Linked DNA regions of Homo sapiens: regions 2 and 3 are each linked to region 1. The links are contacts of gene promoters, found by promoter capture Hi-C in blood cells and fetal thymus (Javierre and others, 2016). All regions are on one chromosome and are shown on one strand. Each heading gives the region's core, a stretch centred on a gene start or on the middle of the fragment in contact. The rest is flanking DNA. Distances are from core to core; before and after follow the strand shown. Region 1 holds the start of VPS26A (VPS26 retromer complex component A). Region 2 holds the start of TACR2 (tachykinin receptor 2). Region 3 overlaps HK1 (hexokinase 1).

Evidence for each region. Contacts are between HindIII fragments. The CHiCAGO score rates a contact against its expected background, and 5 or more counts as called.
Region 2: the fragment with the promoter of TACR2 here is called in contact with the fragment with the promoter of VPS26A in region 1 in 10 of 17 cell types (fetal thymus, M2 macrophages, total B cells and 7 more); the score reaches 12.3 in fetal thymus.
Region 3: a contact is called between a fragment that was not itself captured here and the fragment with the promoter of VPS26A in region 1, in 6 of 17 cell types (fetal thymus, total CD8 T cells, erythroblasts and 3 more). The highest score is 7.0, in fetal thymus.

What each region holds. Positions count from the first base shown.
Region 1 is chr10:69,122,633-69,125,846 of GRCh38, reverse strand. VPS26A (VPS26 retromer complex component A) reads right to left here and starts at 1,669. Exons shown (of 9, transcript NM_004896.5): 1 at 1,567-1,669. The coding sequence starts at 1,569. RefSeq lists enhancers at 705-1,211, 2,076-2,435 and a silencer at 1,416-1,815. The HindIII fragment of the contact is 9,705 bases long and covers 1-3,214 here.
Region 2 is chr10:69,415,194-69,418,407 of GRCh38, reverse strand. It overlaps TACR2 (tachykinin receptor 2), which reads left to right and starts at 1,490. Exons shown (of 5, transcript NM_001057.3): 1 at 1,490-2,476. The coding sequence starts at 2,085. RefSeq lists enhancers at 1-235, 986-1,720. The HindIII fragment of the contact is 12,893 bases long and covers 1-3,214 here.
Region 3 is chr10:69,389,870-69,393,083 of GRCh38, reverse strand. It overlaps HK1 (hexokinase 1), which reads right to left. Exons shown (of 18, transcript NM_000188.3): 15 at 776-959. Among named protein-coding and RNA genes, the nearest start is that of TACR2, 25 kb to the left of the region's middle. RefSeq lists enhancers at 1,684-2,395, 2,467-3,189. The HindIII fragment of the contact is 366 bases long and covers 1,782-2,147 here.

The sequences.
Region 1 (3,214 bases), core at 420-2,919:
ATTTCACTAAGTCCAGTGGATGTAAAGAAATGCAACTCATTGCATTTCTGAGGTGGAAGGCTGACTCTCAAAATTCATTCACTTAGCCCATACACAAGCAATGAAACAGCAAATTTTCATACATATATTACATCTGTGACCATTTCAGTGTTTTAAAGTTTTACAATTTAGTTTCTGTTTGGGTAACTTGAAAATATAAACTGCTCTTGAACATAATTCAAAAAAGCGTATTAAAAGTAATAATTACAAATGTAAGCAAAAAATAGGAGGACCTTTTAAGTTTTCTTTTCAAATGATATTCAATTAAAGAAGCCTGCCCTAACACTGACTAGGCAAGGTCCCCCAATACTTCCTTCTTAGTATCTGTCACAATTCTAATTTCCACGTTAAACAAATAATTTACACAAATAAATGTTTATCTCTCCCTACATTGTAAGCTACGAGAGCAGGTAGGCGCTGTTTCCATTTTACTGGGGTCCCCTAGGCACACCTGAGCAATTATTTGTTGAATGAAAGAAAAAAAGCTCTAAGAATGAACATGAATGTCTGGATTTTGTTTTGTTTTGTTTTGAAAGCAACATCATTACTGAAATTAAAAGTTATTTATTCAAAGTAGCTTTTTAAAAATATACCTGGCTCGGCCTTTTAAGCCAAAAGTCTCAAGCAGTCTATTGAATCAGTGAGCTTTGGGAAGAGCAGGTAGTATTAGGAGAGCATACAGTAGGCGCTAAATGAAGAGAACTGACGACTACTACCAGAAAATGGGTAAAATGAGATCTAACCTAGAGACTGCCGACACCCAGCTAAATACCACAATGCCCAGGCTAGTGCTTCCGCGGACTGTGGTGAGAGCACTGATTCCCCTCCCTCCTCTGCCTCATAGGCCGTTTCAACAACCCAGAGCGTTAAGTTCAGCGAAATAGCTTGCGGACGGAAATGAGAGCCAATGCTTAAAACGGCGGGCACCAAACGGGTGTCTCTGGAGTTAAAGATATCCCCCATTCCAACGTCCTTTTATTTTTCTCTCCCATTTTACAAGTGTCAACAGAAAGCCTGAACTGGGGTCATGAAATCAAAGAATGTCACCATAGTCAGGTTTTAAAATATCAGAGTTTATCAAGTTCGTGACACACTGAGTGCCCAAGTCCCCCGAAGAGTCCGGAGGTGGGGGGCTCCCGGGTCGCCCCACCTGGATGGAAGAGAGGCTGCCCGGGAGGAGAACAGGGACTGGCTACCTAGGAAGGGGAGGCGGCGACCAGCCCCCGCAGAGGCGGGGTCCGAGTCCCCAGCCAGAGCCCCAACAAGCAGTCGAAGAACGCGGGCAGAGGCTCCGACATGGCCAGGAGAGCACGCCGCCGCCCGTAGGTGCTCGGGCCTCGCCGAGACCGGGAAGAGGTGGCGCCGCCAGCTTTTCCCAGACCCAGGGGTGGCCCGACAGGCCTAACCCCGCTCCCCGCCCTGCTCCCCCGTCCCCTCCTCCGGCGACGCCCGGCCCGCGGTTGGCCGGCCCGCCGCGCGCTCCGGGACGAGGGCGGGAGGCGAGCGCGCTGGCCGCCGCGCACTCACCATTGTCAACGCCGCCGCCGCGTCCCCCCTACTCCACTCCTCTTCCCTCAGGAGAACTCCCAGCCCCGGCTCCCTCCGCTCCGGCGCTCCGTCACGTGACCTCGGGCCGCCCCTCACACGTGACCGCTCCCTTCCTCTCCCCCACCCCCGCACCCGTCCCTCTCCCAGCCTCCTGCCCCGCCCTGCTGGCCGCCAGGCACTCCGGGGAGAGGCCGCTTGGAGGCGGGGCCTCAGGCTCCACCCTTCGGAGGGTGGAGAGGGGCGGGCAAATTACGTCGAGTGGGCGGGGCCTGAACAGAGGCGGGTTCGCGGGCTCCTCCTCGCCGTCTCTTCGGTCACCGGACGAGCGGTTCCGTGTCCGGCCTCTTTACCGCACCCAGTTCCTCTTTGTGAAAGTTTGAGCGGCTGGGAAGGAAGGAGGAGAGGAAGGATTCATCTGGAGGCTCTCTCCTTGGCTGGGTCCTTGGGTTGCCGAGGCGAGTGGGAGCCCTACTTCCTTAGGCCTCGCAAGAAGAGATGTGCTCTCTTCGTCCACGGCGAGGCGTTCTGCCACCTTGCCTGAACGCAGTCCCGCTCCACCTCCTTCTGAGTCTGGGTTTTCTTAACTTGGCTTTCTCGCCTCTGAAGAGAAGACCAGTAGAAAAAAATCCTAGGGTACAACTTTCATTGCTTCCCAAAGTCCCCAGATGGCCCCTGAGCGACCCACCCTGAGCCTGGAGGGCTCACAAACCCACCGTTCCGCCCAGCCGTTCTGAGAGGGCAAAGGCGCTCCCCCGAAAGTCCCACGGCGCAGCTGAAGACTACGCTGGCCTGAACTGGATCCTCCTCCCTAGTGTAAGCCTATAGGACCTCCAGATGAGGAAAATACTGTGTGGGATTTCAGAGTATAGTGTTGAAGGGCCACAGTGCACTCTATGCATAACCAAAGCAGAAGAAAAATCCATCCCTGAACGCACTATAATTACCCCACCTTAAAACAGAAGTTTGTGAGGCGAGTCCATGAAACAGGTATCAAAAAAAATTTTTTTATACTTAATCCTCAGTGTGAGCCTCAAATTTAAGAGGATTGAAATCAGAGTATCATCTCTAACCGCAATAGAATTAAAATTAGAAATCAACCCAAACAAGCCAGAAAATTCCGGAAATATTGGAAATTAAGCAACATAATTCCAAATCTCTAGGTCAAAGAAGAGATCAATGGAAATTTAAAAATAAGTTGAGGCCGGGCACGGAGGCTCACACTTGTAATCCCAACACTTTGGGAGGCCAAGGCAGGTGGATCACCTGAGGTCAGACACGAGTATCTCTTGAATCCGGGAAGCGGAGGTTGCAGTGCCCGAGATGGAGCCACTGCACTCCAGCCTGGGCGACAGAGCAAGACTCTGTCTCAAAAATAAAAAATAATAAAAATAAAATAATTTGAAATAAAAGATAATAATACAACATATCAAATTTGTGGAATGCAGTGACACTGTGTAAAAGGAAAATTTGTAGCTTTAAATGCACATATTTGGGCCAGGCATGGTGGCTCACAGTCTATAATTCCAGCACTTTGAGAGGCCGAGGCGGACGGATCACTTGAGGTCAGAAGTTTGAGACCAGCCTGGCCAACATGGCGAAACCCCGTCTCTACTAAAAATACAAAAAT
Region 2 (3,214 bases), core at 241-2,740, 290 kb before region 1:
TTCTTATTTCTACACATTCTGCTCTTTAGGACCCTGGCCAGATGGGCATGAGACAGAAGCAAACCCTAAAGTACTGCTACTGTTGCCGCCACCAACAGAGATCAAAGGCAGAGACCCTTCTGCTAGGGTCCAAAGTCCAAACAGGCCACTCCAGAGAGGAAACAGGCACACAGGCACACACCCACGGGAGGAGTAGGGGCCCAGGAAGCACTCCCTCCCCAAGGGCAAGGATGGGGTTCCCATTCGACCCAGCACATGCTCCTCACATCTGCACAGCAGGGAGACCAAACAATAGATACAATTTCAGTGTTGATTGTCGATGAACTTACCCAGAAGTTCATAATCAGAAAAATCCATAAAGAAGCTCTTTCAATTTCAGCATGTTTAAGTTTCATGACTTATGGTTTAGTGTTGTTTTTATATTGGATTCCATGGGTGGCATAATCTTTTCAGCACTAGAGACCTTTAAAGGTCTTTCTCAGCTCACCCCGGGAGACAAGGGCTGGGTGTCAGGAAAGTGACACACAGGGAGAAGCAGAAAATGGACTGGGAGTGTGGGGGCCGAGGCCCAGCCACGAGAAACCCAGGCGGTGCAAGGCAGAGCCCTGGGAGCACAGAGGCTGCTGTGCCGTGGGTTGCTGGTGAATGAGAAGCCTCCTCTGCTTTAATGAAGAACATGCCCCCCCGACTCCCGCTAATCCTGCCCTGCCTTCATGGTCCACACACCACAGGTGTGCACAGGTTCATGCGTGTGTGTGAGCTTAACACGTCAGCCGCACATACAGTTGCTCAGAAACATCTTCACTGCTTCACACACGTGCACACAGTCAATGACCAGGAGCAGGGATCTTGGGGCAAACCTAGAGCAGCTTCTCAGGAGTTAAAACTCCAGCTTTGCTGTGGTTCCCGGAAGAGCCCTGACTTTGTCCTAAGACAGTGGTTCTCAAAGTGAAGTGCTGGCTCCAGCAGCATCAGTATCACCTGGGAACTCGCTGGAAACGCTCCGGGTTCTGGCTTCTCCTCCTAGAGCGCCCAGAGCTGTGGGGTCCTCCCTTCGGGCCAGAAACTCCAATCATAGTTTTTATGTACCAACCCCTGTGCTAAGTAGACTTTGTGCACATTATCTCCATTTAAAATTCACAAATGTACTGTAAGATGCACACCATTTTTCTATATTTTTCAGATGGGGTAGACAGAGCTCAGAAAGGTTAAGAGACTTGCCTGGAGTCACCAAACCAGGCTCGAACTCCTTCTGTATTCAGAATCACTCTTCAGACGTAGCTCCTGTCCTGGGCTGAAAGTCAACATCCGCCGAGAGCTGGGCCCTCTGTACCAGCCCCATCTCCCCCAAGTCTCTCCCTGCCTCTGCAGCCAGTCCTAAATCTTTCAAGAGACAAGGCCAAGCAGGGGGTGGGACCAGGGGCGGGAGCCAAAGCCCCCCCTCGTGAGCAGGCAGCACCTCTGCCAAGGCCCCCACTGGCCCTGCCCCAGAGAACGGCAGGGAAGCTGCAGCGAGGGCTGGCAGCTGGCAGAGCCCTGAGCACCCAGCACCCAGCCCGGCTTGCAGCCCAAAGCCTGGAGAGAGGCTGCTGCGCCATTGACCTGTGGACTCCAGAGACTCCCGCTGTGCATTCCTCTGATCTGGAAGGTTTCCTGAATTACGTGACGAGAAACCTGGGTTCGAGTCCTAACTTGTCACCAACTTCCTGAGTGACCTGGGCTGGTCCCGTCCCCTCTTGGAATCTCTGTCTTCCATCTCTTCAGCGAAGGGGTTGATTTATAAGGGTGTTTTCTGCTCTGACACTGTGATTTGAATTCTGTGTTTCCACATGATATTCGAGAAGTCTGGCCGGAAGGATGGAATCTGAAATGACAATGGTTCTGGACTGGGCTTTGTGCTCAGCCCAGCTCATCTTTGCCTGAGACCTAGGAGTGGCCCCAGGCTCTCCTGATGTGCCACCACGCTTGGCATCTGCTCCTCTCCCTGCCCCCATATTCCCATGCTCTGAAGGGGAGTTCTCTTTCATAGCAAATCCGAGAGGAGCCGAGGAGCCAGGTCCTTTGTTCCAGACCCAGAAGCAGCCATGGGGACCTGTGACATTGTGACTGAAGCCAATATCTCATCTGGCCCTGAGAGCAACACCACGGGCATCACAGCCTTCTCCATGCCCAGCTGGCAACTGGCACTGTGGGCCACAGCCTACCTGGCCCTGGTGCTGGTGGCCGTGACGGGTAATGCCATCGTCATCTGGATCATCCTGGCCCATCGGAGGATGCGCACAGTCACCAACTACTTCATCGTCAATCTGGCGCTGGCTGACCTCTGCATGGCTGCCTTCAATGCCGCCTTCAACTTTGTCTATGCCAGCCACAACATCTGGTACTTTGGCCGTGCCTTCTGCTACTTCCAGAACCTCTTCCCCATCACAGCCATGTTTGTCAGCATCTACTCCATGACCGCCATTGCTGCCGACAGGCAAGAGGGTCCTTGGGGAAGCTGGGGGGAGCCTCCCCACTGAGCCGGGGCTCAGATAAGGGTGGTGACATGCCTGTGATTACACAGCAAGTTTGGGTAGAACCATGGGAATGGCTTCCCAAATCTGGTCATGGTCCAAAACTATGAATCTGGAAGGCAGGGGGACTGTGGAGCTGAAGAAGGTAGACTGAGGGTTAGACACAGAGAAGGACTTTGCACTAGATGCACTAGACAGGTTGTTCAAGTCTGTAGGGGAAGTGGGCAATGTTTTAGCGACCTTCTGAAGTGTTCTTTCCTGGAGTTGATCTTTGTTTTGTTGTCTTTATTTCACTCCAAAGATATGTCTTATACAGTTTTTTTTTTATTATTCCGGATAGATTACACGAGGGGAAAATGTTAAGTTTGCTTGCAGTTACAATCTAATAGGGCCAATTATTTTCCCAACGCTGCTCAGGGCTGAGCTTCAGGCTAATGTTGGATGCTTGATCTTGCCCTGAGATGGGCTTCCAGTGTGGCTTTCTTGTGGCCGTCCACGGGCATGTCCATGCCCAGAGGGAAATGGTGGGCCGAGGTGCCTGGGCCGGGGTTCCAAGGCATCAGTGTGCTGTGTGGCTGTGGGAGAGTCACCCAGCGGGCTCTCTGCAGGTCGGCTGATACTATGATATCAGCAGATGGCAGCAGTGCGGGGAATGGCTAGAAGGCGTGGGCCTGGGTTGGGAGAGAGGGAGACAGGGGAAA
Region 3 (3,214 bases), core at 715-3,214, 270 kb before region 1:
CTTGAACCCGGGAGGTGGAGGTTGTGGTGAGCCGAGATCACGCCATTGCACTCCAGCCTGGGCAACAAGAGCAAAACTCCACCTCAAACAAAAAGAAAAACAAAAAACTGTAAGCTGATTCGAAGAAAAGCACTAAGTAAATAACAGCATGGGTGGTATTTAGAAAAGGCAAAAACCTTGAGGGGGCTAGGGAGTGACTCATGCTGGGTGCTGCTCCAGCCCTTCTTTCTGCTCCTAGGGAGACAACTTGGACCAACTCATCCTGGCCGTGGCAGAGGATGGCCTGATTCCTGGGGGCTTGAGACAAAGGGCAGACACTGCCATTTCAGACATGGTACCTGAGACCTGAGCTGCAAAGCTCCACAAGGCCACTAGGTGGTGCAGGAGGCTCACGGAGGAAAGGACGATTGCGACAGGGCCTCTGCTTCACACCAACCTGCCGCCCAGCCACCCTCACCCCACCCCCTTGTTATTCTGATGGGAAAGGAACACAGCAAGGGGACCGGAAGGCCAGAATCCTCCAGGCTAAAAAACAGTCACAGGCAGCCCCTAGACAGGCATCAACCCTGGGCCATCTTGTACCATGTTGGGGGTCTGTCCTCCCTGGTTCTCTGCTGTCCAAAAGACAAAGGTCAGGAGTGAGCCAGGGGGTCCAGTCTTGAAACCTCTGTTCAGACCTCTCCTCCTAGAAACTTCTTCCACTGCAAGTGGCAGAATGCAGCCAAGTGCTGCCCCCACCCTGACTGTGAGTGTCCTCTCCACCAGGCGGGGTTACCTTTGTTTCCCAGCATTTAGGGAATATTCGTCCACCAGTCTGTCGTAGTGTGTCCTGATATCATCCAGACACCCGTTGTCCCCAAAGGCCCCCCACTCCATGTTGATGCACATCTGCCCCTGGTCCCCCTCCACCATCTCCACGTTCTTCATCTCCTCCATGTAGCAGGCATTGCTGCCGGTCCCTGGAACACACGAGGGGGCAATGAGGAGCGGTGGCCTTGCATTTGGGGGTCTTGCAACTGGGCCTGGGGTCTGGGGCCTGAGGTTCCACAGGCAGGGGGCACGTTTTTTGTGATGAACAAAGTAATAGTTTTTCTTTCCCAATTTTGAAATGGAAAAATTTGAAATGTAAATGGAGAGTCTGAGCCACATCACCCAGAGGGCACCTGCTTAGCTGACTTTCAACCAAGAGCCAATGTGTTCACCCGTCCAGGCAGGGTTATGTTTATTTTAATAGAAGATGGCTTTATAGCAAAGAGATGGAGCATCAATGGTAGAGGTTTAGGCAACATTCAGACCAGAAGAAGAAATATATACGTACACACACAACATCATGCACACATGAATATACAATATATACATGCCTATATATATGTGTATAAAATATTAGGGGATTATCTTCTATCATACCATAGATATTCACTTATTTTCTTTTTCTTTTCTTCAAGACAGGGTCTGGCTCTGTCACCCAGGCTGGAGTGCAGCGGCGCAATCTTGGCTCACTGCAACCTCCGCCTCCAGGGCTCAAGTGATTTTCCCACCTCAGCCTTCCAAGTGGCTGGACTACAGGCACCACCATCATGCCTGGCTAATTTTTTAAAATTTTTAGTAGAGATAGGGTTTTGCCATGTTGCCTAGGTTCATCTCAAATTCCTGGGCTCGAGCTACCCTCTCGCCTCAGCCTCACAAAGTGCTGGGATTACAGGCGTGGGCACCACGCCCAGCCCCACTTATCTTTTCTCGACAAGGATGGTTGGTCGTGGACTATGCCTGCTCAATAAGCTTTCCTACATACCTTGGGATGAAGCCCACAGTTCAGGGCAGGACAGTGTCTTCAGCATTTCAAGGGGGGCTTTCAAAAGCAATGGTTTTTCATCATTTTTGTATCAGACCTTTGAAGATCAGAGGATTCTTCTGTGAAAAAGGCACCTTTCTCTGGGTGGACCCACACACCGCACACATGCAACCTGACATATGCTTGCCAGGGGCTCAGGAATCTCTGACTTCCATTCCTGAACTCCCTAGAGCAGAGTCACTCAAAATAGAAGGACCACCGACTGTTTGCTGTTCCAGCCCATGAGGAGCTAAGAAACTGAAGGCAAGCATCCTGCAACTTTCACAGCAATTTTAATTGCCATGATATCCAAGCTTGTGGTCACTGAACTTGCCTCACTGAATAGACTGGACATTTAAAAACCAATCAACTAACCCAGGAAGAGTGCTTCACACACATACTTTAATATGCACCTGGATCACCTGGGGACCCTAAGAAGCAGATCCAGATTCAAGAGGCTAGGGCCAGGACCTGAGAGCCTGCATCTCTAACAAGCTCCCAGGATGATGCTAATGATGCGCCCAGGAGCACCATCCACCCATCCAGGGTGGGATGTAGGTGAACTTTCATCGGGAGGGCACAAGACACACCCCCTGGCCAGACCAAAAGGGCTTTGGTAGTTTTCATCCCCTTTGAAGAAACTTAAGTAGAGTTCAAAGACTGTACAGTTGGATGATTTTTGTTCTTTGTTTTCTCAGCCCCCTTTTCACCCAAGGTTAAAACTGAGAGAAGAGGAGCTCCAGAAACGGAAGATGATGGGAGTGGGAGATGCAAAGAAAGCCAAAACATGGAAACCATACATCTTGCCTATGGGAGTCCTGAGCAAAGAGATCAATTGATGGAGGAAAGAAAAAGTAGCTATGAAGTAGCTATGAAATGTAGCTGGAGCCTGGTGCCAGGAAACGGGCGGGCCTGACCTCCCAGGAGGGAAGGTGGGGCCTGCAGGAGGAGGAGAGCTGCTGTGTCACTCTAGCTTTGCATTTCATACCCAAGCCCATTCATGGAAAGAAAGGGAGGGGCTGGGTGGAGAAAGCCAGGCCCCAAACAACCTTTTCACCAGCAGCTGCTCCCTAGGTTTTTTAAAATTTCAACAGAAGCGAAAAGTGGCTTAACAATGAATGAAAAGTTCTTCCTGGCACCTGGAAGGCAGCCTGCTGGGGCCTCTTCCCAAGCTCTAGACACTCAGCAACTGATCCAGTAGCAGGGGTGCCACTGCTCACTCACCAGGCAGAGTCCGCAGATGTTGGCTAAGAAACTCCCTGGGGTCTTTCCCAGCATCCCCTGACGCGAGGAGCAGGGCCAGCAGGACAAATGGTTTCCTCATAGCCCAAATCAATATGCTTCAGGAATTATGTGCTCGAGGCCCAGACCCCTAATGTGTTT